Linked DNA regions of Homo sapiens: region 2 is linked to region 1. Evidence: promoter capture Hi-C in 16 types of primary human blood cells and fetal thymus (Javierre and others, 2016). All regions are on one chromosome and are shown on one strand. The core of a region is centred on a gene start or on the middle of the fragment in contact, and the rest is flanking DNA. Distances in the headings are between cores, read along the strand shown.

Evidence for each region. The method cuts DNA at HindIII sites, captures the fragments that hold promoters and counts their contacts. A CHiCAGO score of 5 or more calls a contact.
Region 2: a fragment that was not itself captured here is called in contact with the fragment with the promoter of NVL in region 1 in 1 of 17 cell types (non-activated CD4 T cells); the score reaches 5.7 in non-activated CD4 T cells.

Annotation. Positions count from the first base shown.
Region 1 is chr1:224,327,355-224,331,427 of GRCh38, forward strand. NVL (nuclear VCP like) reads right to left here and starts at 2,818. Exons shown (of 23, transcript NM_002533.4): 1 at 2,717-2,818. The coding sequence starts at 2,773. RefSeq lists enhancers at 2,386-2,525, 2,576-2,625, 2,816-2,865, 2,886-3,035. The HindIII fragment of the contact is 14,633 bases long and covers 1-4,073 here.
Region 2 is chr1:224,423,390-224,427,648 of GRCh38, forward strand. It overlaps WDR26 (WD repeat domain 26), which reads right to left. Exons shown (of 14, transcript NM_001379403.1): 4 at 1,129-1,265. Among named protein-coding and RNA genes, the nearest start is that of WDR26, 9.3 kb to the right of the region's middle. The HindIII fragment of the contact is 504 bases long and covers 1,386-1,889 here.

The DNA.
Region 1 (4,073 bases), core at 1,568-4,067:
ATCACTTGACCCCACGAGTTTGAGATGGCAGTGAGCAGTGTTCACACCACTGCACTCCAGCCTGGGTGACAGAGCTAGACCCAGTCTCAAAAATAAAAAATTAAAATTAAATTAAATATATAGCTAAGTGAAAATTTATTTAAAATATTGTGTAAGACTATCTTCAGGCTATGTGTGTAAGGTGTATATGAAACATAAATAAACTTCATGTTTAACTTGGGTCCCATCCCCAAATATCTCATTATGTATATGCAAACATTCCAAAACCTGAAAAAAATCAATCTGAAACATTTTTTGGTCTTAAGCATTTAGAATAAGGGATATTCATTTGTACTTTTATAATGAACCAAAGTGAAAGCTATAGAGGAAAACTGATAATGTCAAACGCTGAAAAGAGTCAAGTGTGAGGACAGAGAAGAGGCCACTAGATCCAGTAATTAGGAGTCACTGCTCAGAAACCTCAATAAAGTGAAGGAGCAAGTTGTGGGACGCGGGAACATCCAGAGGAAGAGTAATTCAGAGTGACTGAACAACGAGAACAAAGGTCCTGTGCTTGGCATGTTTGAGAAGGTCTGTGTGGCTGGGACAGGAGAGGAAAAGTAAACTAGGACAACAGAGGCCAGAATATGCAGGGCTTTTCAGACTGGGTTTTACTCTAGATGTCTGTGACTCCACTGAAAGGTTTTGAGCAGGGCTATGGCAAGCTCTGATTTCCCCCCCCTTTTTTTTAGTTATACTTTAAGTTCTGGGATACATGTGCAGAACATGCGGGTTTGTTACATAGGTATACAGGTGCCATGGTGGTTTCCTGCACCCATCAACCCGTCATCTACATTAGGTATTTTTCCTAATGCTATCCCTCCCCTAGCCCGATTTTTCCCTTTAAAAGGATGTCTTGGCCACGCCTGTAATCCCAGCACTTTGGGAGGCTGAGGCGGGCAGATCACCTGAGGTCAGGAGTTCGAGACTAGCCTGGCCAACATGGTGAAATCCCATCCCTACTAAAAATACAAAAAGTAGCCAGGCGTGATGGCATGCACTTGTAATCCCACGTACTCGGGAGGCTGAGGCAGGAGAATCACTTGAACCCAGGAGGCAGAGGTTGCAGTGAGCAGAAAAAAAAAAAAAAATTAGATGTCTCTGGCTGCTCTGTGGGGAATAGGCTTTAGGTAAAAGCAGAATCAGAGAGATCAGTTAGGAGGCTATTGTAATAGTATAAGGTAGAGATGATGGTTTGGACTAAGATGGTTACAGGGAAAGACAGTAAGAAGTACTTGGAATATATTTTGAAAGTAAAGCCAACCAGGCTGTTGACAGATGGTATACAGGAAATGAAAGACTCAGAATGATCCTTAAGGTTTTTGGCCTTAACAACAGGACGAACGGTAGTATCATTTACTGAGATACAGAACACTAAGAAAGGGCAGATTTGAAGGAAGAAAAAAATCACAAATTCCACTTGGCCATTTTAATTTGGAGATATGCTGACTAGGCAGCTGGATATATCAATCTGTACTTCAAGATAAAATCTGGACTGGAGATATAAAGTTAGCAGTCATAAATATACAGAGGCCAGTGCAGCAGCTTGCACCGGTAATCCCAGCACTTTGGGAGGCTGAGGCCCGATCGCTTGAGCCCAGGAGTTAGAGACCAGCCAGAGTAACATAGTGGAACCCCGTCTCTACAAATAATAATAATAATAATAAATTAGCCAGGTGTGGTGGTGCACACCTGTAGTCCCAGCTACTGGGGAGGCTGAGGAGGGAGGATCACTTGAGTCAGGGAGGCCGAGGGTGCAGTGAGTTATGATTGTGCCCATAAACAGCCACTGCACTCTAGCCTGGGCAACAGAGCGAGACTATGTCTCAGAAAAATAAAAATAAAATGAAATAAATACATAGATAATAGAGTATGTAGATACTACTCAAAGGTTATTACACTAAATGAGATCACATAGGAAGTATGGATAGATAAGAAAGGTGTATGAGGAAAGAGGAGGAAGGGGAGGTAAGAGAACAGTGGCACAGAGCACTTCCAACATTTACAAGTTGGTAGGAAAAGATGGGTCCGAAAAGGAGATTGTTTAGGGGCTGGTGAAGTGAAAGAAAAACAAGGAGAATGTGTAGCTCACAAATTCCTAAGTGAAGAAAATTCTCTCCCACCTTTTAACTCAGACTGCTTGCTTACATTCTGAGGTATTTGCCACACACTGCTTTTTACTGATGGTCATGAAAATGAGAAAACCGTAGGCAAAGTGCCTGTTACTGTTGCCAGACCCATGTTATCTCGTTTTAGTGTGTAAGTTCCTTGAGAACGGAAATTAACATATTATTTATGCCACCCCTTCTCAAGGACCTCTTACAATGCGAGCGTTTGAAGACCATTCCTGTGCTAACTTCACAAGCCAAAGAGGTTAAAATTCAAAGGCTACCTCCACTCTACTGAATGATCTGCGCTGAAGACGACCAGACAACTTGGGCAGCCCTACCAAGCTGCACCCTCCCACCATCCCCGGCTTCTCCCTGAGACTCCGCACCAACGTGGGTAGGGAAGGCCCCGGCAGCACCAACTAAGGAGAAACAGACGCACGCCCAGACCCAGACTGGGGAAAGAAGACTAGTTGAGTTCCACCTGGATGCCACCCGACAAAAGGGGAGTGGCACCCTGGGGCAGCGATCGGGGCCCTTGGCGAGGCCAAGCGGTGCAGAATACACACCTGGATGACTCGCTGCTTGAGTTTATTATCCACGAACCCTGCAGGTCTGGGCTTCATCGCGTCGGTCTTCCAAGCCACAGCTCGGACCGCCAGCTCCTAGTCAACCGGGGGCCTCGTAGGGGTTGCCCGCCGCGATCGCCGGGCCAGTTGCACCTGAAATGCGCCCCTCCTGGGGCCTAGCCCGCGCCGTTTCCGTCAGAATAAAAGTAATGCGAATGAAGGGGAAAAAATTCCGAGGAGAGGGAGAAGACTTGAAAACCTCAGGGAGTTTCTAGGGGCCTTATTTTGCAGGCCTGCCCAGTGGACCCTGGAAGATTAGGACCCCTTTGAACGCGCTCAACTTTATTGGTTCCCCGCCGGGCGAACCAGGTGGGAGGAAGTTCCTACCCCGGCGCGGTGTGCGGAGACGCTGTCAACGGCGTCCTCTGGAAAACTTGGTTTGCTTTCCTCAGGCGTTCCAGCCACACCTCATTCTGATACAAAGCTAGTCTTCGCAAAACCAGCCACGGTAGATACTTGGAGTGATAAAATCAGGGTAAAAACACACCACCAGCCGCTGCTTGCTTTCCCACGTAGTTATCTTACATTTTAGAGGCCCGACAAAAGGGCTAGGTGAAAAAGAAAAGGAAGGACGGATTTATCCAGATAACTAAGTCATTTGTTACTTTTAGAACTCGTTTGACTTACGCTGTTATCATCGGCAGGTAATTTGTTGAATATATCCAGTGCAGGACTCCTTGGCCCAGAATTTTATCAAACGTTTGTATTTGCCCCAAGAAGTTTATCCTGCACTTAGGGAGACACAAAGGGACAGTTACCAAGCATTAAAAAAAAAATGCTGGCTTTAGTTTCTGTCTTCTTGTTTATTTCAACCGTGTTTTGAGTATTCTTATTTCAGGTCCTCCTTGGCTTATGACAAGGTTAAGTGCAGTGTATTAAGGGGCAGAGGGGAGAGAAAATGGAATTAAGAGAAGGGCGTGAGGCCGGGCACGGTGGCTCACACCTGTAATCCCAGCACTTTGGGAGGCCGAGGCGGGCAGATCACTTGAGGTCAGGAGTTCACGACCAGCCTGGCCAACATGGTGAAACCTTGTCTCTACTAAAAATATAAAAATTAGCACTGAATTAAGTATTAGATTTCCCACTCAAAATATTGATCCGTTTGGTTGCAACTTCATTTCCTACTTCTTCACTATGTGTAGTTTTATTTTTTATTTTTTTAGTTGTAAAATATAAGAACATTCACCATCTTAAACATTTTAAAGTGTGCAGTTTAGTGATAATACATTCATAATATGCAACCATCACTGCCATCTAGTTCCAGAACTCTTTTCATCTTGTACAACTAAAACTCTAT
Region 2 (4,259 bases), core at 388-2,887, 95 kb after region 1:
AAGGAAGTTCCTTTCTATTCCTAGTTTGTTGAGTGCATTTATCATGAAGGGGTGAATCCAGAATTTTGTTTTGAGGCTGGGTGCAGTGGCTCATGCCTATTAACCCAGCACCTTGGGAGGCCGAAGCAGGTGGATTGCTTAAGGTTAGGAGGAGTTCAAGGCCAGCCTGGGCAACATAGCGAGACCTGTCTCTACAAAAAATGAAAAAATTAGCCACATGTGGTGGTACATGCCTGAAATCCTACCTACTTAGGAGGGTGAGGCAGGAGGATGGCTTGAGCCCAGAAACTAGAGGTGGCAGTGATCTATGATTGTGCCACTGCACACCAGCCTCATACAACTGAGACATCTATTAAACATCCAAGTGGAGAATGTCAGGTATGCCAGTAGATATACATATTGGGAGTTCAGATGAGAAGCTAAATTTAAGAGCCACTGGTATACAGATAGTATGTGAAGGCATGGTATAGAATGAGATTACCTAAAAAGAGTATGTAGATAGAGAATAAAGAGGCCCAGGATCAAACCTTTGGGTACTCTAACATTTTAAGGATTAATGTGGCGAGGTACAGTGACTCATGCCTGTAATCCCTGCACTCTGGGAAGATCACAGGAGTTTGAGATCACACTGGACAACACTGTAAGACCCTGTCTCTACCCTTCACCCCCCAAAAAAGGACTGATGTTGATGTGAGGATTAAATGAGGCTGTTTATGTGAAAAGCTTAGCAAGGGCCTGGCACATGACAAGTATTCACTTAAAAAAGTTAGTGTGCACCAATACTGGAAATGTCATTGTTTACTGTGATCCATATCATATGATTTTTATTTTGTTTTTAACTACAAAAGCTGTCCTTGGAATGTAATAGGGTTTTCATAGAACATTCTAAAATAGCATTTCACAGGCAATACATATTTTCTTCTCCCTTTCACCCACTTAAATATATCTCTATCCTAATCTGAACAGTTTCCTAGAATGACCAAAATAGTTGATCCACACAGGAGTGAGTTTACCTAGACAAATATCTAAGAATTTAGCAATAATCAAGATTTTATATTTTGGAAAAATGTTAAAGAAATATAACTTTGGCCCTCCATTAACCTGAGTTCAAGAACTCAGTTTCCTTACCCACTAAGAACATGAATGCGCTCTGTATTGTATTTCAGCGGCGTCAATTCACAGCGTAGAACTTGAAGTGCCTCCAGGACCTTGCCATCCTCCAGGTATTCTAGGTACTTCTGCTGCAGCAGCAAAAACTTCATCCTCTGACATGACAGAAAGCAGCAGTCAGGGGAAAAAAGTTGATGGAAGTTTCAGAAAATGTTTGTGCCTAAACAGAACAGTAGAAACCATTCTACTATGCCCTTTGAAATAACTTTTTATAAAGCTTCAAGATGACTCAAAATATTTTAGTTTAGTAGAGCCACAGTAGATTAAATGTGACTTTGCTCAATTCCACATCTTACTAAAACTCTGCTTTGAACAAATAATCTCAAATCAGACTAGATCATTAGTGACTGAGGCATCAGCCTTGGAAAAAATGAATTCTCCTCTCAAAGCAATCTCCTACAATTGTAGTTCTTGTATAAAAATTTAGAACTATTCCAAGTACTTGAAATTTGCTTTTTAAGAAGTATGACTTTATAACTAGGGCACTGGGGGGTTTTATGCAACAAGTTTTGAAAAGATTAGAGAAAAAAATAGCAAATGAACTATTTAAGTCACAATGTGAAAGAGGGAATAAGTAGACCAGAAATCAGAACTAGACACACTCAGGAGAAGGAGAAAAGTATATTTTGGCTTATCAAAAGTTAAGAGCTGTCCAACAAATGTACTACAAGTTGGTGTGCAAAGTATTGAATTTCCTACAACTAACGTGGACAAGCATAAGCTTGATGCACTCACTCTCTTCTAGGCGGCTATTAAGGGATGTCTACGTTAGATGGTTGAACTTAAAGGTTTTTAAAAAGATTCAATATTTGTACTTGTGTATTTCTGACAATCTGATCACTGATGCATTTAAAAGTGAAGCACAGGAAATTATTATTCGCTCTTTTCTCCCCTAAACCAATAAACCACTTTCCAGCTGTGAGACACTTTCACATTTAGTTTTTTCCTGAACTGTGTTTTTGACTTTAATACTTTTAAATGCTACTTTATTATTTTACTTTTAACTTGAAACCACGTGGTCACAATCTTAGCAGTTTTTTACAAGAGAAAAGGGATATTTATAAACATCATTTTGAAACTTCTTTTAAACCTTAAACCTAATTAAGGACCACAGGTTGGAGGGACCTTTTCATCATAGTTGCTACTTGTGGAGCTTGAGCAAGCCAATTAATGTAAACAGAGACATCAGTAGGTAGGAAATGTTAGTCATATTTAGAGACTCCAAGGAATACAGCGGTAAAGATCTCAAGTCCACTTAAAATTAAAACTTAAAGTACAATTTTTCTTCTTCGTAAGATGCTTTTCTTCTTTTTTTTTTGAGACAGAGTCTCACTGTGGCCCAGGCTAGAGTGCAGTGGCGTGATCTTGGCTTACTACAACCTCTGCCTCCTGGGTTCACGCGATTCTCCTGCCTCAGCCTCCTAAGTAGCTGGGATTACAGGCACCCGCCACCACACCCAGCTAATTTTTGTATTTTTAGTAGAGACAGGGTTTTGCCATGTTGGCCAGGCTGGTCTTGAACTCCTGACCTCAAGTGATCTGCCCACCTTGGCCTCCCAAAGTGCTGGGATTACAGGCATGAGACACCGCACCCGGCCCAAAATGCTTACTTTAAAACCATAAAAAAATACACTGCTGTCACGAAATGCTGTGGAGAAATTACCATTTATTTGCAGAATTAACAGTATAATAAACTGCTCTACAAGATTTTCTATCAAGGAGTATTTAGAAGAGAGATATAAACTGTAAGCTTATAAAAGTGGTTTCTAGAGAAAGTAAGCAATAATAAACCCTCTCATATAAGTTAGGCATGTATTTAAATTTATAAGATACATTTCTTTTGCTTGATACAAATCTCATCTTAAATATACGGCTAAGGAACAGAAAAAAATTCAAACTGAGACACTCCTGTAACTCTGGGAAAATTACACTTATCAAATTTTACATATAAATTTAGAATGACTAATGAATGTTTCAGAAATACATTAATTACCAAGATGCTCTGAAAAGTACATTACTGTACATACAGCCTGAAGTTAACCTTTCTATGTTAAATGAAAAAACTTTGTCATTCATCAGGTCACAGAAACCAAAAACTAAACAATGCAAAAAAAAAAAAAATCTAAAAATAAAAGAATTTTATATTTGAAGTTATTCTGGATATTCGCACCATTTTAGCTTCTGAAAAAAATGCAACTATGAAATGAAGACCTCATATATTTTCATTTATCAATATAATGTTAAAAGTTTCATTCCACCGGGTGTGGTGGCTCACACCTGTAATCCCAGCACTTTGGGAGGCTGAGGCGGGTGGATCACGAGGTCAGCAGTTCGAGACCAGCCTGACAAACATGGTGAAACCCCGTCTCTACTAAAAAAAAAAATACAAAAAAATTAGCTGGGTGTGGCAGCGGGTGCCTGTAATCCCAGCTACTTCGGAGGCTGAGGCAGGAGAATCGATTGAAACTGGAAGGTGGAGGTTGCAGTGAGCCGAGATTGTGCTACTGCACTCTAGCCTGGGCAACGAGAGCAAAACTCTGTCTCCAAAAAAAAAAAAAAAAAAAAAAAGTTTCATTCCATTTTGTGGTATTTTTTAAATTCAAACTTGAAAATCTTATTCAGTTGCAGAACTTTTTCATTTAAATGTCACATGGAACTGGCCAGAGCATGAGATGTAATTTCTTCACTAAATTTTCTTAGTAATTGGGAATTGAGGGGCTTAAAAAAAAATTTCAGGGCAAGTTTTTTATTTACTTAATATTTATTTTTTTTGGTATCAATCATTAGGCTCCTATGCCCACCCCTCCCCCATTCCAATGTGTGCAGGGACAGTGCCCAAAGCGCTATTTCTCCCTTATTTTCCCACCAAGATCTTGATACAACATGTTACTCTTTTTCTATGGGGCAGAGGTGGGGCAGGAGAGCAGAGAAAGGCTGACTAAAACTCTGAGAGAAGCCAATATAAACACATATTTCTGTATATACAGGGAATGCTATAAAAGTAGCACAAGAGCATTTCTCTATGAGTCATTTTATCCAGATCAAGACCAAGAATATTCTCAAACAGATATCAAATCCTGGTATTGTGC